7 separate regions of the Homo sapiens genome follow, and all the other regions are linked to region 1. Evidence: promoter capture Hi-C in 16 types of primary human blood cells and fetal thymus (Javierre and others, 2016). All regions are on one chromosome and are shown on one strand. Each heading gives the region's core, a stretch centred on a gene start or on the middle of the fragment in contact. The rest is flanking DNA. Distances are from core to core; before and after follow the strand shown. Region 1 holds the start of OMA1 (OMA1 zinc metallopeptidase). Region 2 overlaps LOC105378758 (a long non-coding RNA gene). Region 3 overlaps FGGY (FGGY carbohydrate kinase domain containing). Region 4 overlaps FGGY (FGGY carbohydrate kinase domain containing). Region 5 overlaps FGGY (FGGY carbohydrate kinase domain containing). Region 6 overlaps FGGY (FGGY carbohydrate kinase domain containing). Region 7 overlaps FGGY (FGGY carbohydrate kinase domain containing).

Region 1 (4,111 bases), core at 828-3,327:
CAGTGGTGCCACCTCGGCTCACTGCAACCTCGCCTCTTGGGTTCAAGCAATTCTCGTGCCTCAGTCTCCTCAGTAGCTGGGATTACAAGCATGCATTACCACATCTGGCTAATTTTTGTATTTTTAGTAGAGACGGGGTTTCGGCAAATTGCCCAGGCTAGTCTCGAACTCCTGGCCTCAAGTGATCTGCTCACCTCGGTCTCCCAAAGTGTTGGGATTATAGGCCTGAGCCACCGCACCTGGCCAGCCCAGCTAATTTTTTAATTTTTTTCTGTAGACACGGTGTGTCACTATGTTGCCCAGGCTGGTTTTTAACTCCTGGGCTCAACTGATCATACTGCACTGCGAAGTGTTGGGATTACAGTCATGAGCCACCACGCCTGGACTTTCGTTGGTTTTCCATGGCTTCCACAAACTCCTTCATATGGCGAACCAGGCCCTCCTACTACTTCTCCAGGCACCTTCCCCAACCCTCCTTCACCCATTCCTAAATTCCAAACTCCCTGATTTACTTACACCCCACAGAAAAAGAAAGCTCTCATCTCTATGTCTATGCACATCTATTCACACTGCTTAGCTCTGCACATGACAAGCAAACTCCTTCTCATTTCTCATGACTTGTGTAAAAATTTTAAAAGAATCCTATTGACACAGAAGGTATAAGCAAAAGCCCCAACACTACGCATATATAATTAAAACCATTATCATTTCTATCACTGACAACCAAGTGTCGTTTTGAATAGAAACAGTGCCTGATATTTTGTAATACCCGGTTTATCCTGAAGAAAGGGTAAAGAATGAGGGAAGAAATCTATTCATGCATTTTCAAGGAGCCAATCACTAGACTACAGAGCACATAAGAAAAAAAAAAATCAGGGCTGACATATTCTCTTCAAAGAGCTGTGGCAGGTCAACAAACATAGCTGGCAGACTTCTAGGATAACAAAATTAATGATGTGAGAAAATTAAACAATTTGGATTGTTAGCCTCTACGAACATTTCAGATCCTTAATTCTTTAAGTACCATCTCCGAATGAGCAAGTGCAGCACTCACTGGCACTCACAGCTGAAGCCTGGAAGACAGTTTTAACAACTCTTGCTGAAAATGACTATTTCTTCTCTAGTTTCTATGGAAACAGCTGTCAGATTGGCAAAAATAGGACATGTACTTTAAAATAATCATTCAAGCAAAGTACACACATGATGGAAGGCTTTAAAAAAGAATTGGACGGCAGCAGACTTGGTTCTTAAGCTTCCAAATGTCAGACTACACCCCTTCACCCCGGCTGAGAATGACGGAGATGAACCTAAATCCTTTTAGCGAGGGTTGCACGACCTTGATCAACGCCTGAATGCCAAATAAGGGATTTTCATCTCCCTGGACTACAATTTCTTGTTGAGGATTGCACGGCACAATAAAACTGTTGCTCCACACACAGGCGACATTTAAACAGTATACAGTGAGTTCTGTAGACGAGTTTACGAGGAAATTGTTAAAACTCCCCGGAACTGCTTAGACGGGGAATGTTCTGGTTTGCCCTGCCGAGTTTAGGCTGGAAAACGTGTTCAGTTTCTCCTGAAGAGGGAAGGGGTGAAAGAGACGAATGCCCGACGCGCCGGGAGGCGGTCCCCTCTGGCAGAGGTGCCGGGTGAGGAGCCCGAAGCCCCGCGGGTGAGAAACCCTGCTCTGAAAGCGGAGCCGCGGATAAGGGCGGGCTGAGGGGGAGGGCAGGCGGCCCACGAAAGTACTGCCACGGGGCAGACACACGGGGTCACCGGCGTGCCCCGGGCAAGGCTAGGGGAGAACCGGGCTCCCCCAGGACAGATCCCCTCCGTCTCCCGCCCCGGCGCCCCCCGCCCCTCCCCTCCACGCAGCCTTATCGCCCACCCACGCCTCCTCCCGTACCCCCATCCCCAAGGATCCCCACTCCTTGCCCGGGCGCCCCCGCAGGCGCTCTGCGCTCCGCCCCCTCCCCACTGCCGCACTCTGCCTCCTCCCCTGGGCACGATCCTACTCGGAAAAGCTGGGGAAAAGCGTCACCGTGAGGACTGACTCAAGCAGAAGCGAAAGCGGTGACACCGCAGACCCGACCTATGCGCAGGCGCGCACCCGCACTTCCTGCCCGCCATACCGGCCGGGGCGCCCTTCGCTCCGCCCACACCCGGCAGTCAATACAGCCGCCCAGAGTCGTTCTCCCAGCTGCCCCGGGCCCCGCGGAGACTGTGGCGCTCTAGCGCCTCCGTGTGGCTTAAGGCGGGACATGGCCCTGGGCTGGGCTGCTTGCCTAGGAACAACTTTCTCCCGTCTTTGGTGAGTTGGGTCCTCTAAAGAATGATCCACGCAAGGCTGTGTCCGTTGTAGTCTCTACGGCAGTACCGGCCAAAAGGGAAGAGACTCGAAGACTGCCAAAAGACGAAGGCTTCCTGGTTCTGAATCTGCATTCATAGAAATAGTCTTTGGAGTATGGGAACAGTGCTTTCATATGATTTTTGGAGGGACGCATTTTAAGAAAGATGAAGTATAATCTTAAGTGTCTGGAGGTTAAAGTAGCTGGCTCCAAAATTATGTGTATAGTATGTTTCATTCATTTCACCAAAACATATTTCTTGAGCATCAACTACATTTTAAGTGCCAAGGATGTAGCAGTGAACAAGACAGACCTGAATTTCGTGAACTTTATATCACAGTGAGGAAAGACAGGCGATTAAAAAAAAGTGTACAAATAAACACAAATAAATAAAAGTGTACAAATAAGCCAGTACAAATAAACACTGGATTGTGATGGATGAGTAGTGAGGTCTCATATTAGTTTATTATGTTTACACTCTGTGCACAATGAAAACATCTCAAAGGACATAAACACTATGTCAAAGGACATAAACACTATGAACAATTTTAGGTATCTCTTTTGGAAAATGTGTAAGTTACTGTTTCGTTTATCTTATGTGTATTTTATGATTTGCCTTTTACTTTGAAAGGGATATCCTGGAAAACCCCTGACAACTGGACCCCTAAAAACTGAAGTAGGAGGTCCTTCAGTCTTCGTAGGGTTTATCTCCCAAACTCTGGAGTGCACATGTCTTACCAAAGTTTCCAGCATGCTAGCCACCTCTTGCTCATCTTGCCTGGTTAGCATAATGTCATTGGTGAAATAGATGGGTGTGATGTTCTCTGGAATTTCCAGTTGATCCAGCTCCTTTTGGACTGCGCAGAGCCATTATGTCATTATCCTGGGTCCACCTGATTTCCAAAGGGGCCAGACTGGCAAGTTAAGTAGAGATATGGCAGGGATGACCAACCACTCTTGTATATTTCAGGTCTTTAATTATGACATTAATCTCCACCATCATCTCACTATCCCCTCAGATGAAATATCGGTTTTGATTTATTATCTTCACTTGGAAAGAAGGACAGCTTCAGAGGCTTCCCATTGGCTTTCCCCACCATGATAACTCAAGACCAAGGACCCTGAGCTTCTTACCAATGTGGAGATTGCTCCAGCTGCCCAATATGTACTCCCAATTATGCACTCAGGAACTAAGAAAATGACTACTGGATGGGTCAGTGTATTCCTGGACCCACTGTAAGCTGGACATTATCCAGGACTCTGCTTATTACCTGATCCCCATAAGCCCCCACACTTAGAGAGGAGCCATGTGTGTTACATACTTTGGGTAACACCTGTGAAATGTCTGGGTATTCCTCTTTCCTCAACATAAAATCAGTCAAGAAAATGGCCGTGGGACACAGACCAAAGAGTAATCATTAATTACAGTAAATATTTGTTTCAGTATTGCAGGATTCTTCTTTATAGGGACCCAACAACCTCTTAAGTCAACAGATTCTGTGGTCTCAGTGTGAAGATAGGCTCAGGTCTGAGACTTGAGCAATGAGCAGTGCCTTTTATTAAGCAACTACTCCCTGCATAGGATAAATAGCTTCTTGTCTTCCTCCAGTTGTAGATGTTAGGCAACACTCTTGTTGGCTGCCCGTCTGTTTTTCCCCTAGGGAGACCTTATGCTATTAAAGCCCTCCACAACCTCCTGTGGATCAAGCCCCCTTGGCTGCTCCTCTGCCCTTGGCAGATGTTACAGTAATTACATCTTCTGG
Region 2 (4,111 bases), core at 1,091-3,590, 1.2 Mb after region 1:
GGGTGGCATCTTCCCATACACCTTCACCTCTTCCACTCTTGGAGTCTAGGTTCTTACCACATCTAACAGCTTCTTGGCTAGCCTTTTTGCCTCCATCCCTCTGCCTGACTATTGCTTCCAGTCTCATCTTAGACTCGCCAATCCCATCTTTCATTTGGTCTCCTATATTTTAAGGATAAAATAAAATAAGAGGAGGTCCCTGGGTATGTGCTAAGTGGGTGTGTGGAAGTAGAGTCCTACCTCACTATGGTGGAAGCATAAGAAGCTGAAAAATAAATGCTGGAATTATACCTGCAAGGGATACTGAGGTCAAAGGCAAGACAGCTGGCCAAGCCAGATTGTTCTTCCAATGGGCCAGGTGAGCAATGGATGTAAGGTATGGAGCCCAGGTGAGGAAGACAGAAAGCAAGAACTCAAGTGAGAGGTAGTTCATATGGCTGCCTCACTATCATCTTCCAGACAAAATGCTGATGATAGTAGTGTCTTTTTGTATGAAGTCCAGCGAGTATGCCAGGTGTACTTAAAGGGGCTGGAGTAATGTGGATACCCCTGACTCCAATACTTGGCACACTTAGGCAGAAGGAGCTCTTCAACCCACATAACCCCCAATGGATGTGACACTGGGTCTGGCTGTTGCATCACTGAGATTCCAGGACCTTCTCCTCCCATCAGATCTTTCCCTTCCATCAGGTCCAGTTCTGTCCAGGACTCTCCATAAGGCAGTGGTGCATGATATACGCCTAAATGGGCTCTCATCAGCACCTCCTCCTTCTAAGCTTTGCAATGATCTGAAGCCCAGGCCAGGTCACAGCACACGGACCCTATAACCAGCAATTAGGAAAGTAGCCAGCGTTTCTATCTATGGTAGCACTGAAAAATCTTTTCCCCTGAGTTTAAGTCAGGCTGGAAGACAGGGAATTCCATCGTGCCTTTTGTTTCTGTCAGAGTCAAAGCAGGAAATAGCTGCCAGCTGAGTATTCATAACAGGGATTTAAAAACTGGGAATTAATTACACAGAAGTGGAGGAACTGAGAGCCAAGCATGGGGTAGTGAGGCAACCCAGAGAATCATAACTGAAGGGAACCACTAAGACCCTAGGCCAGAGGGACAGAGGAAGAGGCAGTGTTACGGGCCCCTGGGCGAAGCTGGCATCCTGGCAGGACTGTTCTGGAGATGGCGCTGCTGGGGAGTTGCTGCCCAAGACAGAGAGGGAGGGGAGAAACATTCCAACTTCTCCCCTCTTCCCTCCCTCTAGTGTTCCACCAGTGCCTCCCACTGGCCAAATATGCAGAATTCAAGGGTCAGTCCCCTGAAATACAGAGCAGAGCAGGAGAAAGTGAAGAACCAATTTGAAGGCAATATGCCCAGGAGAGACCAATTGCCCTTGTTTGTCAACCTTCACCACTGCTCCAAACACAAAGCCCTCATACACACTTCCATAACAGTATCACTCCTGGCTTACATGCCCCACAGTTTTTCCTTATCCTTCTGCCATCCTTGTGCCAACCCACCAGCTATGCCTTACAGAGCCTCCATTCCACTGTAAACAAACTACTCTATGTCCTGCCTCTTCTTCAAATATTCTCTCTGACTTGAATTCAATCCTGATTCACACTTAGCAAAAAGCCCTGAATCATTTATTCACTCATTCAACAATGACATATTAAATGGAAATTATACCCGTAATAACTAACCTTGCATTGTTGTATGTGTTTTATATATATTAAGCCCTCCAATTCTCGCAACCACCTTATGCCCCTTCTATAGATGAGGAAACTGAGACAAGAAGTCCTTAAGAAACTTGCCACTCCCATAGTTCATAAATAGCAGGGCCAGAAATCAAACATGCATCCAGCCTCGAGAAACCACAGTTTTACCCACCATACATCACTGTTCCAAAAATGAATATACAGTAGTGAGCAACAGATAAAGTTTAGTAGAAGAAGACATTTTTAAATTTTCATTTTGTAATAATTTTAGTTTTACAGAAGACTTGCAAACAATAGAGAGTTCCATATACCCTTCACATTGCTTCCCCTAATGTTAACAACTCACACAACCATACAGTATTTATCAATACTAAGAAACTTTCATTGGTACGATGCTACTAACTAAATTACAAACTCTAACCAAATTTCGCCAATTTTTTGATTAATGTTTTCCTTTTCCAGGATCCAATCCAGGGCACCATGTTTCATTGAATCATCATATCTCTTTAGTTTCTCAGACTTTCTTTGTTTTTTGTGACCTTGACACCTTTGTAAATTATTGATTAGGGCCAGGCCTGGTGGCTTACGCCTGTAATATCAGCACTTTGGGAGGCTGAGGTGGGTGGATCACCTGAGGTCAGGAGTTTGAGACCAGCCTGGCCAACATGTTGAAACCCTGTCTCTACTAAAAATACAAAAATTAGCTGGGCATGGTGGCGGGCACCTGTAATCCCAGCTACTAGGGAGGCTGAGGAGGAGAATTACTTGAACCCAGGAGGCGGAGGTTGCAGTGAGCCGAGATCACACCATTGCACTCCAGCCTGGGTGACAAGAGCGAAATACCATCTAAAAAAAAAAAAAAAAAGGATTGGTTAGGCATTTTGGAGAAAGTCCCCGCATTTGGGTTTGTCTGATGTGTTCATATAAGTAGACTAGAGTTCTGAATATTTTGGACAAATGACATATTGGCAAAGTGCCCTTCTCACCACATCACATCAAGGATACAAGCTATAAACATGAGCTATCATTGATGATGTTAACCTTATTAATTTAGTTAAGGTGATACATGGCAGATTTCTCTGCTGTTAAGTTTCTATTTTTCCCTTTTCATATTCTGTTAGTTAGAAGTGAGTACTAAATCCAGCCCTCACAAGGGAAGCAGAGTTAAGCTCTACATCGTGGAGGAGGCAGCAACTACGTTTATCATTTGGAATTTGGCAGGAAATATTTATCCTTTCTCCTCCATTTATTTATTTATTCAATCATTTATCACTCAGTAAACATTCATGAATATTCATTTTATTTTTTAGGTTATATTCCAATACTGTCATTTATTTTGTTTCCCTAACTGGGGCAACAAGTTAGAGCTCCCACTGCCTAGCTTTGGCCAATGGGAGCTTTTTCAGGTTGACTACTGTGCCCTTTTCACATGTCCCCATTTTGTTGAGCCCTTCCTTGCATTCTGTCACTACAAAATGCTCCAGGCTTATCTTGGATTTTCCCACCCCTGCCCTAGAATCAGTGATTTCTCCAAAGAACACTGGTTCCTTTTATTGGAGAATGGTATCAGAAACCAAGATCTGGGTGCCGGAAGTGCTTCTAGTTTCTCTCAGTGGAAAAAGATAGAAAATACATGTATGTATATATACTAACCCATGTATATATACATAAAAAGACTTTGAATAAATGAAAGCACAAATGGGTTGTTATAAATGCTATGAAGGAAAATACCAGATTCTTTATAAAAGGGTTATAGATATGATTTAATACAAATGGGGTTAGGTAGAAGTCAAGATGGTCTTCTCTGCAGTTAAATACTTAAGGTGAAATCTATTGAATGACTAGGAATTAGCCAAGTGAAAGGGCAGAGAGACAGCAGTACAGGTAGAAAAACCATCATTTAAAAGAACACTAAATAGCAGGTGCTCAAAATGTTTGAAGAGTTGGATGAAGTCCATCGTGGTGAGAGTGGAATGATCCAGGGGATACGTGACCACAAGGGGGCCAAGGCTGGATCACATAAGACCTTGAAGGCCATGATAAGGAGTTCAGATGTTGTCATAGTGTAATGGAATGCCACTGAAGGGTTTTTAAAAGAGGAGGGAGTTGCATTCTACTTCACATAGAGTTGTAGAATCATGTAAAGTAGAAACCTCCTCAATTTCCTCAGCTCCTCAATCCCCACCCCACTACCCATAAGCTTTTCCCTGCAGGCACCCATCTGCAGGAAGCTTTACAGTTGGCCACCTCACTCTGGTCCACACCAGAGTCTTATCTTTCTGGTCTTTAGATTTCACCAGGCCACAACTATAAAATGACTTATATGAAAAATACTTGTATACTTTTATTATAAAATTTGCTGTCATTTACATTATTTGTTCATTCACTCAGTCTTTTCTAGG
Region 3 (4,111 bases), core at 878-3,377, 1.2 Mb after region 1:
AAGAAGATTTATAAATGACCAGTAAGCACGTGATAGGGTATTCAACAGCACTATTAGGAAAATCAAAACTACCGTGAGGTACCACCTCACACATTAGGATGCTACTATTTTAAAACAGAAAACAACAAATGTTGGCAAGGATGTGGAGAAATTGGAAGCTCTGTGCATAGTTGGTGAGAATGTAACATAGTATCGCTGCTGCAGAAAACACTATGGCCATTCTTCAAGAAATTAAGAATAGAATTAACATGTGATTCAGGAATTGTATTTCTGAGTATATACCCAAAAGAACTGAAAGTAGGGTATGGAAGAGATATTTCTACATTCATGTTCACAGCAACATTATTCATGATAGCGAAAATCATGAGAGCAACCTAAGTGTTCATTAGTAGATGAACATATAAATGAAGAATGATATGTGCATACAATGGAGTATTATTCAGCCTTAGAAAGAAGCAATTTCTGACATGCCACACATCAGTGAACCTTGAGGATATTATTCTAAGTGAAATAAGATAACCACAAAAAGACAAATACTGCATGATTCCACCTATGTAAAGAATAAGGCCAGTGCACAAAGTTGTGGCAAAGTTGTCAGTATTAACATTGTAAATCAAGTGTGTGTGAAGGGGTGCTCACCTTAGCTCCCTTCTAGATATTTTGAGATTCTAAAGTCAAGAAATCTATCTCATGTAGTGAAAGAATTCCTTACCGTTATATTGTCACAGAGCATCATTAGTAGGAGCAAATTGTTCCTAAAATAATTCTACAACTAATAAATTTGGATGCTCATAGAGTAGGTCTTAGTAGTACCTACATATAGCTATATTGATGATATTAAAATATTAATTATCTAAAATTTAGTAACTAGCATTTATATCACTTATTATGAGTCAGGTACTGTTCTAAATGCTTTTCATTTATTTCCACATTTAATCTACAACAGCTCTGCTGAAGTAGATCCCATAATTATCCCCATTTACAGATGGAGAAATTTAGGCAGAAATAGTTTAAGTAACATATCCAAAGTCACACAGCTAATGTTAGGCCACATTAAGATTCCAACCCAGGCTTTGGAGTTCGCCTTTTAACCCTGTGCTTGGCCCCGTCACAACTCCTACGTTACCAGAATGCTTACAGTCTAATAAATATTGGGTAGGGGACTCCTACTAACATAGCTATGTGTGACAAGTAGAAGTCCCTGTGTGTATCCAAGGTTACTCTTACAACCTCTCTCTGCCAATGCACAACTTTGCACCAAAATTTCATCATGAGGACTCCTTTTCAGAGCACCCCAGAATTGAGCAAGACATGCTAAACTGGCTTCTTCACCCCCTCACCCCATGTCAGCTTCCCAACCAAGAGGAGTAAGGACAAAGTTGCAAGGCTGCAAGTATAATTTGTCTCGGTTCCTATTATTCCTTTCAGGATTATGATGCCAGAGCAGCTTCAGCTGTTCTGCTGTCTGATTCATGGCCAATACCAGTTCTAACAGGTCTAACCCAAAGAGTCAGCCAGATAGGACAGGGAGAGCAACGGCCACTGTGAGATGTCTGGAAGGCGAGCACAGCTCTAGAAAAGGCATTAGCTACATTTCCATGGGGTTTTGCTCCTGGATAAAGCAGGTCACAAGGGAAACCTAGATGTGGAATCTGCAAAAGGGCAATTAAAATGTTCAGTCTTTGTCCTTGGTCAGGCTGTGATTTTAGGCCAGTCATCAAACCTGGGGCTAGTTATATAGGAAATACTTATTGAAGCTGGCAATGTGAAAGAGTCTCCATTAAGTCCGGCCTTTTTGTATATACAGTAGAAGCTTTGAAGTCAGACAGACATGAGTTTGAATTCCAGCTCTGCCAGTTTTTATCTATACTACTTTGTATATGCCTCTCATTTAGGAATTTTTTTTTTTTTTTTTTTGATGGAGTCTGGCTCTTTCACCCAGGCTGGAGCGAAGTGGTGCAACTCAACCACTTCACAGTGAACGGGGGACGGTTCACTGCAACCTCCGCCCCCCGGGTTCAAGCAATTCTCCTGCCTCAGCCTCCTGAGTAGCTGGGATTACAGGCGTCCACCACCATGTCTGGCTAATTTTTGTATTTTTAAGAGATGGGGTTTAAATGTTCTTATTTCTAAATTGGAGATAATAAAACTTCATCCAGGTCACATATAATAGGTCTGAAACATGCTAATTCATTGCCCAGGATGCTGTAAGCATTCAGAATCTAGGTGTCAGCATCACCACCACACATATATTTCCATTCTTCTAAATGTACAGGGAAGCCCTGTGGCAGTTTTGTCTTGAGATCATTCAACATATTTATATTTCTCCCACAGATACTATGATAAGAAATACCAAGTATTCCTGAAGCTGGTTGAACACCAGAAGGAGTATTTGGCGATCATGAATGATGACTGAACAGGGCTTGCAGGTGCTGATGCCAGAAGCTTCTGTGCCATTGCATTAAAGACTTGTCATTTGATCCATGTTCAAGACCCTTGAGGTATTGTTTCATCATTTCTGTATTGTCTTTCAATAAAGAAAACAAACATGTGCAACCAGAATTAGAGTCTTCATTTCAAAATACCGCTATTATTTAGTTTCAGTTTCCATACAGTCTCCATTATAGTAACAGAAGTTTCACATAGGGTCATAGGATCTCACATGAGACTAGACCTTGGGGGCTATTCAATCCAGGGAAGGCCTGTACTTTTTTTTTTTTTTTTTTGAGACGGAGTCTCGCTCTATCGCCCAGGCTGGAGTTCAGTGGAGCGATCTCGGCTCACTGCAAACCCCGCCTCCCAGGTTCACACCATTCTCCTGCCTCAGCCTCCTGAGTAGCTGGGACTACAGGCGCCCGCCACCGCGCCTGGCTAATTTTTTGTATTTTTAGTAGAGACAGGGTTTCACCATGTTAGCCAGGATGGTCTCGATCTCCTGACCTCGTGATCTTTCCGCCTCGGCCTCCCAAAGTGCTGAGATTACAGGCATGAGCCACTGCGCCCGGCCAGGCCTGTACTTTTTAATCAATTAAATGTCAGCTATTAAATGAAAAACTTACATTACTTTAGGTAGGACATCTAATGCATAGTCGATGTCTTTTATGGCATTTTCCCCTCCTGTGCAGGATCTAGTCTAGGGTCAGATACCACATTTATTTGCAGAATTGTAATTTCACAATCATCATATTAAAGACAGGTATAGGCAGGAATCATCGATGGATCCAGGAGGGAATTTTGAAGAATAACAGGATATATGCATAATCTTAAAATATCTCTTCAGAATTTGCTTATTAGTTACAAGAGGAAAAAGAACGTTAAGTATACAGGGAAGAAATAGGACAACATCTTGATTAGGTGATCCAAATCAACTTCAGATGGGCAAATGGACATTGTGTGCCTCCAGATATGAGAAAAGAAAGAGCATTTTAATGCAGAGCCTGAATCTAATCAGAAGGAAACATCAGACAAACGCAACATGGGAAGCATTTTATTTTTTAATGGACTATATTTTTCAAAAATATCTATGTCATACTGACAAAGAAAGGCTGTGGGAAGTTTCCAGATTAAAGGAAACTGAAGAAACCTGATGGCTAAAAGCTTTTGATGTAGACAAGCACTGGGAAAACTAGCTGTTTTAGTTGATACCACAGCAGACACACAAACGCACACAGACATACACATACATATACATACATAAATATGTCAACACCCACACATAATTTCAGACCCAAGAGTAACTGCTAACGTTGATTTGAGAGCTGTCATAGCTCAAATGAGTGTGGGTAGAGGACATGCTAAGACTTCAGCAAAAGACAGCAGGTAGAGAAGAAAAAGCCAATATAATTCAGTAAATAAACATCCTCTGGAGTACTTTGTGCCACATGTTGTGGTAAGCACTGGTCTACAGGAATAAATAAGACATGGCCCCTGCCTTCAGGAACCTCCCTGTTTAATGAGAGACATAGACAAATAGATTGATGACAGTACATTATGAGAAATGCTACAATTACAAAAAAAAAAGTACCTGCTGCATGGAGCCCATCAGTCAGAAAAGGAGGAAGGAGAAGGTGGGATGAAAAACAATATGGTGTAACAGCTATGAGCCCTGGCC
Region 4 (4,111 bases), core at 419-2,918, 1.2 Mb after region 1:
GTACCCTGCAGATCCAAAGCGGCAGAGCTGCCCAAGACCATGGGAGCCCACCTCTTGTATCAGTGTGACCTGGATGTGAGACATGGAGTCAAAGGAGATCATTTTGTAGTTTTAAGATTTGACTGCCTCACTGGATTTTGGACTAGCATGGGGCCTGTAGCCCCTTTGTTTTGGCCAATTTCTCCCATTTGGAATGGCTGTATTTACCCAATGCCTGTACCCCCATTGTATCTGGGAAGTAACTAACTTGCTTTCGATTTTGCAGGCTCATAGGCAGAAGGGACTTACCTTTGTCTCAGAGGTGACGCTGGACTGTGGACTTTTGAGTTAATGCCAAAACGAGTTAAGACTTTGAGGGACTTTTGGGAAGGCATGATTAGTTTTGAAATGTGAGGACATGTGATTTGGGAGGGGCCAGGGGCAGAATGATATGGTTTGACTGTGTTCCCACCCACATCTCACCTTGAATTCCTCCATGTCGTGGGAGGGACCCAGTGGGAAGTAATTGAATCATGGGGGCGAGAGCAAACTGAGGACCAGAGTGGTTATAAAACTTGTCTGAATTCATACCATTTACAAAGTAAAAGAAGAGTCTAGAGCCCAGGTCTCCTGAGTCCTCAGAATCAACCAAGTCAAATAAGCTCCCCTATTCAAAAAGAAGAACCTTCAAGAATATTAATTTTGTGCCCATCTAAAAGCCTCACTGAGCTGTGCTAAAGGTAATAGGCATTGAAGAAAACGTTCTCACAGAAACTCCCAGCTGCAAACACAAAGAAGCAGCTCTCCAGGGAACAGGGTAAGGATTGTCTGAAGAGATCTATGCTGGTGAGATTACAAAAATCATAATATATGAATAAATGAACATATGGAAGGAATCAGCAAAGCCCTCTCATTCTTCCCGTATGTAAACTCGGCCTTTGCCTAAAGTCATTAAGTAAACACAGATGCAGCCAAACCAGGCACCAGATGGCAAACAAGAATTGGAATAAAAGGTAAAGAAAGCTTTTGGTGTTTACTCAAAGATGGGGAAAAAAACCATGATCCAAAATGCTGTGGTTTCCCCAGAATGGCCACCTGGAGTCACCAGGGCCCAAAAGTGACCAAATAAAACAAAACAAAACTAGAATAATCATGATTGGGAAGTTGTAGGAAAACCGCTGCTATCTTCTGTGAATGGAATCCCATGTCAGAAGAAACTGGTTATTCTGGGAAATGAAATAAATGGTTAAATCAAAGTACTAGGACCAGAGAGCAACAGGAATGTGGCAAGAATCCACTTTTGCTGGGCACTCACATCTGTCCAGAGCTTTGTATTCTTGGCCTTATATAATCCTCACAATTACCCATTAGGTATTGGCCAAATTTTATAAATGAGGAAATTCCATAAATGGGTTGAGAGAGATTAGGCCCCAAGGTCACACCACAGGAATGCCATCCTAGCTGTGGCCAGTGCTTCTTTGTCCATTCCCAGCTTCGTAGCTCTGATTTCAGTACCAGATACAGGGGAATCCAGGCACATTCTCTCTGCCTTTCCTGCCCAAACCACTGGACCTAAGTAAGAAGGTCACCTGGTCAGGTACTGCCTTGAAGGGAGACCAGAACAGACATGGAGTGGGGAACAGAGCATTCCTGAAAACTTAACTTCACCTTTATTTCACAAAAGACACCCTTGCACATGCCTCATCCACCTCTTAGCTTGTACATTTGCCATGAGCACCAGTAATGAAGGCAGTCCTTGTGAATATTTGCTTTTCAGTATGCATGAGTTTATATATTGGGGGTAGAAAATTCCAATAATGTTTCAGCTTCAACTAAAAGCTGTATCTTGTTCTGTCCTTGCCTCTAACCTGACAGATTATTTTTTAATTGCTTGGTAGAGATAAGTTTGGCTTCTGCAAATAAACTAGCAAACATTTCCTGCCCAGGCTACCAAACACAGCCTCACCTCACCTATCTGGCCATATGTAAAAACGTTCATTCAAATAAGTTTTGTTCTTTTGAGTTTTACTCTCCCAAGCGCAGAAACTGGGTAGTGAGGGGTGCAGGGGTATGGGGAGAATGGTTTCAACCAAACCATTCATTGCTTGCAGGTGGGAAGGTAAGGTGGAAAATGCTTTCCAGCTAAACAGACCTGTCTGATAACCCTACCACTAACTAAACTTGCTCTCTTGGGCAGGCCACATTATGCTTTGAGTTTTAGTTTCTTTCTCTCTAAAATGTACGTGGAAGGGCTGTTTTCAGAATTTTTTTTTCACTTTCCTCTTACCCATCTTCTCTTTTTCTACATGGTCAATCTCCACGTGGCTGTTTTATTTTTTCCCCATTGTTCTTTAGCAAAGCTTAATCCAGGATGAATTCAGCTTTGTGGACACTATAAATCAAAGCCATACAACCATAAGGCAGGCTTCTACCACTCTATACTAATTGTTACCAGTCTCTTAGCCCTGGTTTCTGGTTGGGTTTGGCCAATGGGCAGCCCCAGCAGGAACCTGGAGAATAATGAAGTTGTTTATTCCCCCAGCGCTCTCCTTGCTGGGTTGACGCAGGTTAGCTACATCCATCTACCATCCTTCTACAATGGACCACAGTTCCTGTGTGTGGCCCTTTCCCTACAATTTTGTGCATGATGGGAACCTCTCCTCCCTCCCTGTCCTCCTTCAGGCTAAGAGGTTGTAATGGCTCCTTACTGTTGGTAATCATTAGGTACTTGTTTCTTTACCTAAACCTTTTTAAACAACTCTTCTTGAAGCTTACTTCAGTTACCCAATGTGAGTGTCAATCTCTTTCCTAATAGGAACCTGAATAAATATATCACTTCAGCTCAATTTCCCATTTTCTACAATGACTATTATCAAACTTTGCCAATTTCCATCCCTGTCTTTCCTCTCATGTTCAGAGAGATGACCTCCTGTTTATTCTTAGCCACCAACTACCTCTAAGAGAAAAGCCATTAGAAAGACAACTGCCATTAAATCTCCCAGCTTTCTTAGATCCGGTAGTGAGCTGGGGCTAGCTCAGCCCTGCTCGCAAGAGCATATTGTGCACATCTCTTCCCAGCTTCACATCCATTCCATCACATTCAGAGCTTGAAACTGGCCAAGATGGAAGTATTTACAACACAGAAATTGGCAATTGATAAAATTAGGGCTTTCTATTGATTATTTATCAGTATTATTTATCAACACACCACTGCTTATATCCAGATACAGTCTTTTTCTCCTTCACATTTGTTACGATGAAAGAGATGGCCCACTTATTATCAGAGACTCTTTCATCTCCTACTGCCTCTAACAGCCCACTTAATTCATTATCCATTCACTCTATGTTTAGCTTCTTCAATACTATCTCCTTCTCATCAACATTTAAACATGCTCTAGACCTGTGCTATCCAACAGTAGCCATTAGTTAAACGTATTTATTGAACCCGCGAGATGTGGCTAGTCCAAATTGCAATATGTAAGATACACACCAGATTTCAAACATTTTGCATGAATAAAAGAATGTAAAATATCTCATAAATAATTTTTGTATTGATTACTTGAAATGATATTTGGGGTATAATAGGTTAAATAAAAACATATTAAAATTAAATTCACCAGTTCACTTACACTTTTTTAAGTGGGTACTAGAAAATTTAAAATTACTTGTGTAAATCATATTATTTCTGTTGGACAGTGCTGCTGTAAACCTTTCATCTTAAAAATAAAATCCCTGGCTGGGCACAGTGGCTCACACCTGTAATCCCAGCACTTTGGGAGGTTTGGATCTGTGTCCCTGGCTAAATCTCATGTTGAATTGTAATCCCCAGTGAGGAGGGCCCTGGTGGGAGGTGATTGGATTTTGGGGGTGGAGCTCATGAATGGTTTAGCACCATCCCCCCATTGGTACCACATAGTGAGTTCTCAGGAGATCTGGTTGTTTAAAGGTGTGTAGTACCTCCCTCCACTTCCTCCCGCTCCAGCCATGTAAGACGTGCTTGCCTTCTGTCATGATTGTAAGTTTCCTGAGGTCTTCTCAGAAGCAGAGGCCACTATGCTTCCTGTATAGCCTGCAGAACCATGGGCCAATTAAACCTCTTTTCTTCATAAATTACCCAGTCTCAGGTATTTCT
Region 5 (4,111 bases), core at 858-3,357, 1.2 Mb after region 1:
GAGTTATTTTTCCTTTTTATTCCTTGTATTTGACATATGAAAAGAAATCTTTGCTGATACTGGCTTCAGATTCTCAGGTTTAAGTATGCTATCCTTGACCCAGGAAAGAGTTACATGCATCATACTTCCGAGGCCTTCAAAGAACAACTTGGAGCAAGCTTGAGAGTTTGCAGGGCATTTTGGTGACATTTCTGGATGCCCTTTGTTTCCCCCTTTCAAGAAAAGCCCTTTCTTTCGTTGCCTTCTCACATAACAGCTTGGGATTCTTGTCCCTCCCAGAAATGCATTTGAACTTGCTGGGTTTGTTAAGAGTCAGGGCATGAAGCATTTTTCCATGGTAGAAAAGTTCTGGCATTCCAAAGCAGAACTAATGTGGGATTTGGGAAGCTTGCCCTATTTGTGCACTTAATTAGAGCTCACCAAAAGCAGCTGATCCATTGGTACCATAAAAAACCAATGCTGAGACCAAGGAAGGCTAAGACTGTGAGTACCCTTAGAGGGTGGTGAACATGAATTCCACACCTGTTCCCTACTGACTGGAATCAGGATTCAAAGGCAAAAAGTTGTGTGCTTTCCAGCAACATTCATTGGGATCCGCAGCCCAATTTAATCAATTGATAGGTTGCCAGTGTCTAAGTCAAGTCCCGAAACACTTGGTTCCCCTTGGGTCAATGAAATTTGGTCTTGGTTCTAATACAAACTTTAAGTTGGCTAAAAATGGCTGAGAAAACTACTGGTTTTAGAGTCAGTCAAGCCTGTGCTCTAAGTCTGACTCTGCCACTATGAGATGTCAGATCTTGGAGAAACTGTTCAGTTACTTCTGAGCTTTAGTTTGCTTCCCGGTAAAGGGACATACTAACACCTATTCCATGGGTCCATTATATACACAACAGCCAACATTTGTTGAGTAATTACTATGTGCAGAGCACTGTGCTAAGAGCACAGTCTATGTTAACTTTTTAATCCTCATACAGACCTAAGGAAATAGATTCTATATTGGAGATTGGCAAACTACTCCCCACAGGCCAAATTTTGCCTACTGACTGTTTTTGAAAATAAAGTTATATTGAGACACAATCACATCCATTCATTCACATAGACCCTATGGCTGCTACTGTGCTACAACTGCAGAGTTAAATAATTGTGACAGCGACCAAATGGCCCATAAAACCTAAAATACTTACTATCTGGCCCTTCATAGAAAAAAGTTTGCCTCTGCTTTAAATTATCTCAACTTAAAGATGAAGGAAATAAGCCAAAGGTATTAAAACCTATTTTAAGTAGGTTAGCTGGGGCCACAAAGCTGGTAACAGGTAGGACTAGGATTTGAATCAAACAGCCTGACTCCAGAACTTGTGTTAGTCACCAGTATCTTATATATAATATATATGAAATGCCTAGCATAGTACCTAGCACACAGGAGATACTTAATACATCTGTTTTATTAGCATGGTATTCCCTTTCTTTTTACCTCCTTTCCCAGTTTCCTATCAATTCCAGTTACCTTTTGCTTTTCTTCTGCAAGATAATTCAGTTAAGCATATTTCTGGCCAATTCTATGCCCATGATCTCAGTCTATCCAACAACTCTATGAGGTTGGTATCATTATTTTCATTTAAAAGATGAAGAAACTACATCTTGATCTCTGAGCTCCCAGGAATCTTTGCACTCCATTTGGGGACCCTCAGAGGAAACGTTGCTAGGAACTTTTGGAACATTTGTTTTATGCGGCAAACTAGCATCAAAGAAAAAAGAATCTCAGTGGCTGCTTGAGAAAGGATTACAATCTAATTAGGGAGACAAAACCAAAATACTGAGACAACAGCAGGCATTTTAAAGTAAGTTATTTAGTACAGACAGTAAGTGAGTGTGAATTCAGAGAGCTGGGAACAAGAGAGCGGACAGGGGAGGGGAGGGCTCTCAAGTTTCCTGGTCAAATGTGAACTGTGCCTTGAATGACAGACTGAATTTAAAAAGGAGAGGCTCAGATTCAGGCATGATGGAAGCGGGAAAAGGAACCACAGATTTCCTGCAGAAATGGAAGTGAGAGCTCTCAGACGGACAGAATCAGCAAATCCCTGGGAACTGTAGAAAATCAGAATGAGTAAATAATGTGGTGACAGATTCTACAGGATTTTGAAGGCCAGAGAGAGGTACCTGGGTTTCAGAATAACAATAGTGATCATCATAACACTTAGTTGCAGGATTGCTGACCACACACATTTCACATATGCTCGCCCTTAACCCTCCTTGTCCATTCTGTGATGTAGGTATCATCCTGTTTTACAGATATGAAAATTGAGGCTTAGATTATAGCAATCAAAGGTTGATGGGAAAATTAGAAATATTCTGCTTACTTAGTTCAACAGTGCAGAGCTTTTGTGTTGTTACGTTCTTCCTTGGATACATGTGCTTGTCGTTGAGATTTTATAGGGTAATCTATATACCCTATAAACCCATTTAATATAATCATAGGTTCTGCTTGTTCTAATACTGTTACCTATAAACAATTCCCCATGGACTCAGATGGAAAGTGCCATGAATTAAAGACCTTACACTACCTGGACCACTCTGATACTGCCCACCACAGGCAATGGGCAGCTATGGCATGGTTTAGAGCATAGGATACCATAATGAAAAGGATCAGTTCTTTCAACAAAGGCCGGATGGGAAAGACAGGAAGGAGGAAATCGTGTGAACCCAGAAGTGTGATATTCGATGGAGAGGCAATCCTGGGATGAACACCCAGAGCTTGGGTTTGGGATGGCTGAAGAACTTATGCCAAGAAGAGAAGGCACACATGTAGATTGAGAAGGCCATGACCAGCACTGCTTAAGTCTTACCACTTAGTCATAGTTGAGGGACATAAGACTTGAAGTATGGAGATTTAGGCTCAAGTCCTAGTCTCACGGCTACTGGCACTATGTGAAGAAGGACGGAAAAGGCAAGAATTATATGCTGATTGAGTTATGCAATATATTGTGTCTTCCCATCAATAGCACTTAAGTATTTCTGTGTGCCAGCACTTTCTAATTTCTCTTCTAATCGCTTAACATATATTAACTTATTTAGTCTTCAGAGAAACCCTATTAGATTGGGGGTATTATCATCTTCTTTGTATAGCTGGGGAGACTGAGGCACAGAAAAGGTTAAGTAACACACCTATGGTCACACAGCTGGTATGTAGAGAAACTACACTTTGAACCCATGCAGTTTGGCCCCTGAGTCCATGCTCTTACTTACTGTCACATTACCTCTCAGGAGAAAACAGGATAGGTGTTACGAGCCCAGTTTTACAGATGATGAGACTGTGGGTCCAAGACCATAAGGGATTTGACTAAAGATCAAACAACTAAACAAACTGTTACGCTGGCATTTGAACTAGGTCTTCCTAATTCTGATCCAGACATTCTTTCTATCAGATCACACTGCCTCCTGTTGGTGTGAAAGCATTTTACAACCATAAACCTCCTCCTGTTTATTAACACATTATTATGATAGATATAAGGCTTCTCTGATTCAGTAGGAAAACTAAGGAGGTAGATCAGCCAAGCTCGTGGTTGGTAGTAATAAAGGGCTTGCCTTCTAGACGGTGACTCCCTCCAGGAGAGCCACCAACCAGTTCCTAACCTCTGTTTCTTGCAGTTCCTACAGAGCCTGGCATGGGGCAGAGGGTGGCTCTCTACAAATGTTTGTTAAACACAACTTGTTCCAGATAGAAGCATGTGAGGCTCTCCACTACCACCAGTGGCATAGCAGGCACACCCATGCATTAGCGACTTGCCCTCTGCCAACTCCTGGGATGGTGATATGATGATGGTTCTTTGTAAGCTTGTCACTTGTCCCTCTTCCAAAGTGAGTTTACCCAGAGGAGCATTCTGAGGTTGAATTTGTCCCATACCACCCCTTCACCTACACATTGACACTCCCCGCTGTATACCATGGGGTCAGAGACCTTGCACTACAAAGGCCCCTTGCCAAGCGTGGTATTGCTTGCAGCCTGTCTGAGGCTTTCACTACTTTCCCCCAGACTCTCAGCCCCTGGCCTCCTGGCTCATGGCCACTCCCAGTGCCCTTAGCTTTAGCTTCCTGACCCCCCTATAACTGGCAC
Region 6 (4,111 bases), core at 796-3,295, 1.2 Mb after region 1:
CCTGAATTACTAAAATGTGTGAAATAGTACGATAATATGTATAAAAGTGCCTCATGCATAAAAGGCCCCAGTAAATGCTTTCTTCCTCCCTGATTCACATGGTGAGCAAGTGGCGGGGGCCCAGGACTAAACCTCATAGCATCAGACTCCCAGTCCAGTGCTCCTTCCAAGAGGCCTTTCAATTGTTTTCTTTCTGTCTACCTACCTCACACTGTGTCCTTCATCTCTCTGTCTAGCCCCCAGGAAAAGTGCAGCAAGTGCAGGTATTTCTGAAATGACGAGTGGCTCGCAAAAAGGATCTGATGAGTGTTAATAGTAAGCAATGTGTACCTAAGAGTGTAGACACTATTAGCATTTGGAAAAATAGGAATCTGAACTGAGAACTGGAAGGGCCCTTAGAGATCATCCCACACAAACCCTCTTTTTACAGATGAGGAAGTTGAGACCCAGAAACGGGAAGTGCTTTGTGCATGGCCAGAGAGCTCGTTGCTGATCAAACCAGGACAAGCATCCATATGAAACACGCAAATGTAAAATTACATGAAAAAAAAAAACCCTTTACCTCCAGATGTACTGCTTTCCAGAAAAGTGGCGAGGAAATACCACAAAAATACCTTTACTTCAAAAAATTTGAAAATGTTGAAGGTCATGCTTCATATTGTGCCAGGCAAGAGAACATTGTACATAATTGTAAATCACCATTGGAGGAGGTGGTCCTGGTTGTATTCTTTTGTTTGTTTGTAATACACATAACATAAAATTTATCATCTTAACCATTTTTAAGTGTACGGTTTGGTGGTATTAAGTTCATTCACATTATTGTGCAACCATCACCACCATCCATCTCCGGAACTCTTTTCATCTTGCAAAACTGAAACTTTACCCGTTAAACAATAACTCTGCATTGCCCCCTCCCCCAACCCCTAGCAACCACCATTCTACTTTCTGTCTCTGTGAATTTAACTACTCTTTAGATACCTCATATAAGTGGAATCATACAGCATTTGTCTTTTGTTGACTGGCTAATTGCATTTAGCATAATGTTCTCAAGGTTTATCCATGCTGTAGCACGTATCAGAATTTCCTTCCTTCTTGGTTGTATTCTTAATGCAACATAGCTTGTTCTCTGTGATCTGCTGATTATAACCATCGTCGCTGTGAAGACTTTGGCGTGCTTAACATTTTTGTGACTTCTTTCCAGTGGGGGAAATAGATAGCTCAGTTGTGGACGATAGCAGCAATGGGAAGCAGTATTTGAGAAGAAATCAGACTCTCTTCTTCCAGTCTTTTGCAAGTAGGTGACACAAGAGGTAAACAGAATTGCATGCTGTGCCCCTCCACATCACCCCCTATTTTCTTTGTTTCTTCTGCCCAAGGCTTCAGTCAATCAGAGAAGCAATGAGAGTTGAAGATTTTAAAAGTGGGTTTTCAAATAAGACAAGCTTGGGTTCCAGTCCTACCTCTGAAACTTACTAAATATGTGATCTTGGGTAACGTGATTGAACTCTCTGAGCCTCAGTTCTGTAATCTGTACATAGAGATAATAATACTTTTATCAAAAAAGCATGTCTTTTTTTTCCTTCTGATTGATGAGATGCTTTCTGTATTTTTTCTGGATTTAAACATAGTTTCCAAAGTTAAAATATTAATAGTACTTTTCCCTGTCCCATTGGGTTGTTTAGAAATGTAATGTGATATATGACATTTTGGCCTCTCTGAGATGTCTTGTTCCAGCCCAAAGATTATTAGGGAACCTCATGTCATTTGAAAGGGGAGAAAGATAATTTATTGATAAGGTTCTGCATGTCATATGTATCATTTTTTTCTCATCAAAAACACTGAGTAGAACTCTATTATGATACTTGGTCCTTTACTTCATACTTTTCTATCTTCCCAGCTAGTCAGAACCATGCCCACCCCGCAGTTCCCACCCCTTGGTCAGTACCTAGCATTATGCCCAGAAAAACTACAGATGCTTCTTCACACTCCCCTCCAACCCCCACACCCCCATTACCAAAGTGTTTCTATAATGCTCTGGGAATCAGCATCTCAATTCCCCCATGGCCTCATGGTTAAACATACCATTCATTCGACCTCTCAACTGTGACAAAGAAGGAAGCCTGGGTGTAGAAACTGATTTCAGCTCCCCTCTGAAGTTGGGCGTCTCTCTTTGCTGACCACTTGGGAATTTTTTTTTCTTGCTTCTGACCCACCTCTCCCCTTTCTTTTGATAAACAGGACAGCTGTCCCCAAAGGGATGAATCCATTACCTTTCACCAGAGTTGAGTTCGTTTTCCATTTCATCTTTCTGCTTAAAGAGAAAGCCCTTTAAAAGCGCAGCGCATACATTGAGTGCGTGTACTTAATTTTTAATATGTGTGTGCCCACAGCCAAGAGAACAGAGAACCTTAAATAATAATGAAACTGAATTGTACATGTCGTATGTTTTATGTGGCACTGATTCCTAAATATGCTCCTAGCAGCCAGGTATTATTTAATACATCCCCATTAATCAAGCTGCCAAATCTAAATGAAAACCATGTTTAAATATGTTTAATAAGATTATAGCTTTTGGTTGAATATCAAACTAACATAGCTACATTTTTCCTTCCAGCCAGCTCTCATTTACTGTCTTACATTTTTACTCTGAAAGCTTTTGTACTATCAAACCAATCTTGATTATAAAACAAATTATACCACAAACTTTTAGTATCGTGAGCTTCAGCTGAGTCCCTCAGTGTAAATGTTAGGAGAAAGAACAGTTCTGAGATTTTTTTTCTGGCTAAAAAATGATATTTTTCTTCTTCTTGGGGTGAGCCTTTGAGTTTAAAAGGAAATTAAAAATTCAATTAGAGATACTAAATTGTTTGTAGCTTCTGTATTAAATGATGTCTGCCTTTTGCATAGTTATTGAAAGTGTTTCATATTAAATGTACTTTTTCTTTTTGACGGTTCAGGCTTCTGTTAGTTTTGCAATAGTGACACCTAGGGGCTGTAGAGAACATTGCATGGGCTGCTAAAATCTCAAAAACAACCCCTCTGCTCTTTTGCCATGGATAGAAAAAGTATTTGTGGGTCATTGGGGCTGATGGAGAAAGAAGGCAAATGGTACCCTGGGCGAGGTAGGTTTCCAGTTCTATTTACCAGGCTTCCAATATGCAAACAAAAAAAGGAGGTAAATAAAAAGAGGTTTTTATAAAAATAAAGAACTAGCTGAACTTGGAGTAACATACAGTATTCTAGCAGATTTTTAAAGTTATTGATAAAACAACATCATATTTATTAACATGTTTAATTCTCGTTCTTATTTGCAACAGTTTGCCTGCTGTTCTTGCCTTTGTAACAGGCATGTCCCGCGTTGATTGCAGAGAAGTGATGACTGTATGTGGTGCTTTGACTTGTTCTGTGCGAATGTCTCGCTTCTCACATCTCTAATTCTTCTATTTGCCTTGTTCAATATTCTATATCCATATTCACCCTTATAAAGTTGTCATTGAGACTTTTAGCCTATTTGTTCTCTCCACTGATATCATTATTTCTTCTAGCTTCTCAGAGCCCTTACATTTTCTCCATGTTTATATGGCTTGAAGCTTTTAAATTCTTGATCAAAGCAATCATAAATGTGTCTGTTACAAACACATTAAAATTCTTCGATTATATAAAAACTGACAAACAAGTCTTATAAAACTGTTTTTGTACTACATTAAGTTCAAAATAGGTGGCACATGTTTAACTTTGTACACTGTAGGAATTCTAAGAATCATTTCAAAAAGAAAAAGCAAATACAGTGCACAGCAATGCATATAATTCTTATAGATGAGTATTATCTATCTGTCATATCTCTCTGTAAATAATGATGGTGACAATGATGATAGGCAAAGTTTATTGATGTTTTTTATATGCCAAGCACTGTTCTAACCACTTTGCATGAATTAACTCAGTCACCATGGGACAGGAACTGTTATTATCCCAATTTTTACCCACATTCACAGAATGCTTCTGTGTTCCAACAAGGAAACTTCAACAAAGTAGTGCATGAGCTTATCACAGGTCGTGTGCAATAAGAGTTTATGTTATTAGTTTTTCCTTGAACTGCTTGGGAGTCAGTGTC
Region 7 (4,111 bases), core at 614-3,113, 1.1 Mb after region 1:
CTGCTTAAGCATGTGTTTCTGGATGAGATTCTGATTCCTAATTAAATAGATTCAGATTACTGATTGAATTTTCTGAGTATCCTGTCCCATATGTCAGTGTCCCTCAGAAAGTCAACAGAAAACTTTGGAATGGTATAATAATTAATAATTGAAAGAAGAATTCAATTAAGAATATGAAGTTGGCCCTAACATTCATTATTCTTATTGCCACACCTGGTTAACAATACATTCTTTTTTTTTTTTTTTAAGAGTTTTTTCGACCCCTCCAGAAAAAAAAAAAAAATAGAATAAAACAAAAATAGATCAGGTTCTGATTAATTATAAAACCTCTGGTTTCAATCCAGTTTGCAGAATGATACCATGGGTATAAAAGTCAAAACATTAGCTGAAAATTGTAATTTTTTAAGGAAATTATTTCAATATAAGATACACATCATTTGACTCTCTTGTTCCTTACAGAGTGATCCAAGAACAGGACCTGTTACTTTCCATCCATTGTCATTTCATAGACCCCTTGAAGCAACCCAGTGGTTGGTAGCAGCAATCTTTGTGCAGATGAGGACTCTGAAGCTCAGAAATGTTGTATAACTTGTTTAATACAAAGCCCACGCTCTTTGTATTCCATCAGACCATATCCTGTAGATACATATACATTGCTAGGGAAGTACACTATGGCAACTGAGACACCTCTCACAAGGTGGTATCGTTTATAAAAAATAGCATTATGTATTTGTCATCATTGCTTGGTTGAGTGTCCAACACAGAAATAAAAATAAGCAGGGTGCCCTCTTTGGCATGGAAATATTCTAATTCATTTCCCCAGAGAATGACCATACTCACCAGTATTATTTTGCTCTACTTGTTTGCTTTTAATCATAATATATGCCTGTTTACTTTTTGTAGCTATAAAAAGGTAGATAAAAGAAGCACTTTAGGTAGATATAAAAAGCACTTTAATTAAGAACATGAATTAAAAGATACTTCAATAATGAAGTACAATAGATTAAGGAATACTTTAATAGATTAAAATAACTTGAATTAAAAGATACTTAAATGCTATTGTTATTAACACAAAGGTTTAGGCTAACAAAACGCATTTTCCCAAATATCTCTCTCACCTCCCCCCACAATTTTTATTCAGGAATGTAAGAATTGGGCTTTTATAAAAGCAACCAAGGGCTAAACATCTACTAAGTTCTTAGAAACTTTGAAGGATTACAGAACTCTCTTTCTATAATAAGGTTTACCTGTTTGACTTGATTTTGTTCAAGATGGCATTTCATACTGGTGTAAACCTAAACAAAAATGTGTAAGATTTATCTCATAGAAAGACGTGCCTGTAAGTAATTAATTCCTCACTCTAATTACTATTTATGCCTTTACTTTTTATTGTAAACATTCTTGTTGGAATAAACTAGAAATAGGTTTTTTTTCTTTACACTAAAATAACTCATGAATAGCAATGAAATCCATGCTGTATAATATTCAAATGAGAGATCAGGAAAGACAAGGCTTTTAGTTAAATCAGTAATATTCTGTGATGGGGAAAATTGCCTTGAAAAATACACACACACACACACACACATGCACACACACACACACATACATACTACTAGAAAAAGTTTGAGGTTCGATTCAGAGTGTGGAAGGTACAGTGTCTTAAAAGAGTTTCAGTTGCAGCATTTAGGCAGATGATCAAGAATATGCAGAAGAAAACAAAAGAAATCATAATTATAGTTTCCTAACAGAGGTATTTGATCCTCTGCAGTGAACCATAAAAAACTAGCGTGGGATCAGAATCTTGAGTAGCATGTATTTAATTGTATGCATTTCAAAGAAATTTGAACATTTTAAAAAGTTACACCATATGAAAAATTGTATATAAAGACATTTTCTATAATATTATAATAATTTTACAAATGAGGAAACAGGGTTAGAGAGAGTAAGTGAGTTACCAAAGCCAATGGCTAGAAAGTGAGAGAGGCAGAATCCAAGTACTAGCCTGGGATTCCCAAACCAAAGACTGTTCAGCTCAGCCACAAGTGGAAATGGATTCTTATGGGGCTAAGTGATTACCATTACTTTAAAAACTAGTATCAGAAATAGATGACAAGAATTTAAATGTATATCAAAATATCCCTTTGGTAAATGTTAGTGTCCTCACAGGTAAACAGAGGGCACCCTCAAATTTGAGTAATTTGAGAGGGTTTAAAAGAGGGACTGTTTACAAAATTGCAGTCATAGAGACATAGAGAAATCACAGGGAGAATGTGACCCTCGGGTTTGTAACAGCTGGGCCTGTAGAGGCGAGGGAAAAGTGCAGTTACTGGATGCCCAGAACAGAGGGCTGTGTGGAGACTGCACAGTGACCCTGGAAGAAAAGGGCTGCACTGTTAACCCTATTCTCCCTCTCTCTAATCTCCTGCCTGCCTCACCATTGGCTGGAATCAGAATCAGAGAGCAAGGGAACCTGTTGATGTATTCTGTAGAAGGCCACATCTCTAAGCTCAGAGGAGGGTGGGAAGGAATCTTCAGAAGCACTTGGAGACATTCAACTGAGTCACCCACCCTGGACTATTCAGAGCGGTCTGCAGACTAGAGGGCAGTCTCTAAATGGTTTGTTCAGATTTGCTATGAAACAAGGAACTTGCATCAGAATGTAAATCAATTATGTCACCAAGTGTACTGTTTAGTTCAGCTGTCATTTTATTCATAGCAAGATGTTCTCAATGAAGGAACCGGTGTGCTGGCTTACATCCTGGGGCCAACTCCTTTCACCACAGATGGGCCCTTTGAATAGCACTAAACTAGATTCCTTGCTCTGTAGGTAATGATAAAAACGCTGGAATCCCTTTCCTTGTTTTGATTTTCCTACCTTAACTTCTGCTAAAGAGAAGAATAACGAGTATTTTTCTGTACCTACCCTGAGCCTGGCACTGTGCTAAGGTACTTTAGATGACATTTAATTCTTGCAAGTTAGATTATTCACTTCATCTTTACAGACAAGAAACAGGGCCAGAAAGTTTAAGTAATGTGCCTGTGGTCTAGCAAGTGAGAGAGCCAGCACTCAAATTCAGATCTTACTCCAAAGTCCATGCCCCTCACTGTTTGTAGGCTATCCCAGGACTGTGCTTAAAATTATCTGACATTAACACCAAGAAATAAAGCAGGGTTGTTGGGGGATTGCCTTATATGGAGACCTATGACTATGTTCTGTATACATATGCTATGCATGATTCCTGGGAATAGATAAAACCCAGCTCCCCCCAAATCAGATGGCACTGTTTGTGAATACGATGTTACTCCACGTTACAAGGCCTTGTCCAGCCCAGCCAGCCAGGTCAGAGATGAATTCAGTTTGTTTCTAAGTGGCTGTTGTCTGTTGCCATCTCTTTTTAAACCTGGGAGGTCAGGAAGAAGATAGGGAGAAAGAATTCATGAGAGGGATGCATTTCCTTAGAAATGTTATTAATTGGCTGGGCAAAACAAGAGAAGGAAATAAAATAGCTGCTCCTTACTAAGTAAAGGCATCTTCTTCCCTTATCTCATTAAAAATTAAAAGCACTCTTGGTTTAAGTAGGGCAAATTAGTAATTAAGTGCTATATAATGAACTTGTATAAACAGAATATTGAAGGGGAAGCCAAATTAATCACTCTGCTGGCTTGTTTTTGCCCCCATTAATGCACCTTTTACTCAGGTCCTTCCTGTGATACCAGGATGCATTTTCTGCTCTCCTCTGCTGCTGGAGATTGGGTGGGCTGTGATAGTTGGGCTGACAGATGACAGTGGACTAGATCTGGAAAAGTCATGTGTAGGGGCCTCGATGGCCATTTCATTTTTTAAGCCAAGGCTCATCAGCACAAGCCTGCATGTGACGGGAACAGCCTTAGACAGTAGCAGGGCAAGGAAGAATTAGACACAATGTCGGTACCCAAGGAATTCCCAGTCTACTGGTGGCGGGAGGTTGGGCACAGATGGATACAGTTATGAAAAAGTCTAAGGTGTAATGGCAAAGACTATTTCCTTGGACTCAAATCTTGGCTCAGCCACTTACCTTGGGTGAGTTACTTAGTTTCTCTGTGTCTCAGAGGCCTCACCTGTGAAAGATTC

Evidence for each region. Contacts are between HindIII fragments. The CHiCAGO score rates a contact against its expected background, and 5 or more counts as called.
Region 2: a fragment that was not itself captured here is called in contact with the fragment with the promoter of OMA1 in region 1 in 7 of 17 cell types (M0 macrophages, total CD4 T cells, total B cells and 4 more); the score reaches 8.2 in M0 macrophages.
Region 3: a fragment that was not itself captured here is called in contact with the fragment with the promoter of OMA1 in region 1 in 12 of 17 cell types (fetal thymus, total B cells, naive CD8 T cells and 9 more); the score reaches 13.7 in fetal thymus.
Region 4: a fragment that was not itself captured here is called in contact with the fragment with the promoter of OMA1 in region 1 in 7 of 17 cell types (total B cells, total CD8 T cells, non-activated CD4 T cells and 4 more); the score reaches 9.5 in total B cells.
Region 5: a contact is called between a fragment that was not itself captured here and the fragment with the promoter of OMA1 in region 1, in 4 of 17 cell types (neutrophils, activated CD4 T cells, monocytes and 1 more). The highest score is 6.8, in neutrophils.
Region 6: a contact is called between a fragment that was not itself captured here and the fragment with the promoter of OMA1 in region 1, in 11 of 17 cell types (fetal thymus, total B cells, naive CD8 T cells and 8 more). The highest score is 24.4, in fetal thymus.
Region 7: a contact is called between a fragment that was not itself captured here and the fragment with the promoter of OMA1 in region 1, in 5 of 17 cell types (total B cells, neutrophils, naive B cells and 2 more). The highest score is 9.1, in total B cells.

The regions. Positions count from the first base shown.
Region 1 is chr1:58,544,649-58,548,759 of GRCh38, forward strand. OMA1 (OMA1 zinc metallopeptidase) reads right to left here and starts at 2,078. Exons shown (of 9, transcript NM_145243.5): 1 at 2,055-2,078. It also overlaps a transcript of DAB1 not described here. RefSeq lists enhancers at 1,487-2,113, 2,327-2,516 and silencers at 1,727-1,816, 1,827-1,926. The HindIII fragment of the contact is 5,811 bases long and covers 1,251-4,111 here.
Region 2 is chr1:59,776,436-59,780,546 of GRCh38, forward strand. The region is part of intron 4 of LOC105378758 (a long non-coding RNA gene); the gene reads right to left. All of the region lies in intron 2 of LOC101926944 (a long non-coding RNA gene), which reads left to right. Among named protein-coding and RNA genes, the nearest start is that of HOOK1, 36 kb to the right of the region's middle. The HindIII fragment of the contact is 3,133 bases long and covers 775-3,907 here.
Region 3 is chr1:59,760,169-59,764,279 of GRCh38, forward strand. FGGY (FGGY carbohydrate kinase domain containing) reads left to right here. Exons shown (of 16, transcript NM_018291.5): 16 at 2,335-2,562. The coding sequence ends at 2,416. Among named protein-coding and RNA genes, the nearest start is that of MIR4711, 29 kb to the left of the region's middle. RefSeq lists an enhancer at 2,585-2,634. The HindIII fragment of the contact is 632 bases long and covers 1,812-2,443 here.
Region 4 is chr1:59,737,436-59,741,546 of GRCh38, forward strand. All of the region lies in intron 14 of FGGY (FGGY carbohydrate kinase domain containing), which reads left to right. Among named protein-coding and RNA genes, the nearest start is that of MIR4711, 6.2 kb to the left of the region's middle. The HindIII fragment of the contact is 1,337 bases long and covers 1,001-2,337 here.
Region 5 is chr1:59,714,822-59,718,932 of GRCh38, forward strand. The region is part of intron 14 of FGGY (FGGY carbohydrate kinase domain containing); the gene reads left to right. Among named protein-coding and RNA genes, the nearest start is that of MIR4711, 16 kb to the right of the region's middle. The HindIII fragment of the contact is 3,444 bases long and covers 386-3,829 here.
Region 6 is chr1:59,696,447-59,700,557 of GRCh38, forward strand. All of the region lies in intron 14 of FGGY (FGGY carbohydrate kinase domain containing), which reads left to right. Among named protein-coding and RNA genes, the nearest start is that of MIR4711, 35 kb to the right of the region's middle. The HindIII fragment of the contact is 1,211 bases long and covers 1,441-2,651 here.
Region 7 is chr1:59,680,220-59,684,330 of GRCh38, forward strand. All of the region lies in intron 14 of FGGY (FGGY carbohydrate kinase domain containing), which reads left to right. Among named protein-coding and RNA genes, the nearest start is that of MIR4711, 51 kb to the right of the region's middle. The HindIII fragment of the contact is 6,732 bases long and covers 1-4,111 here.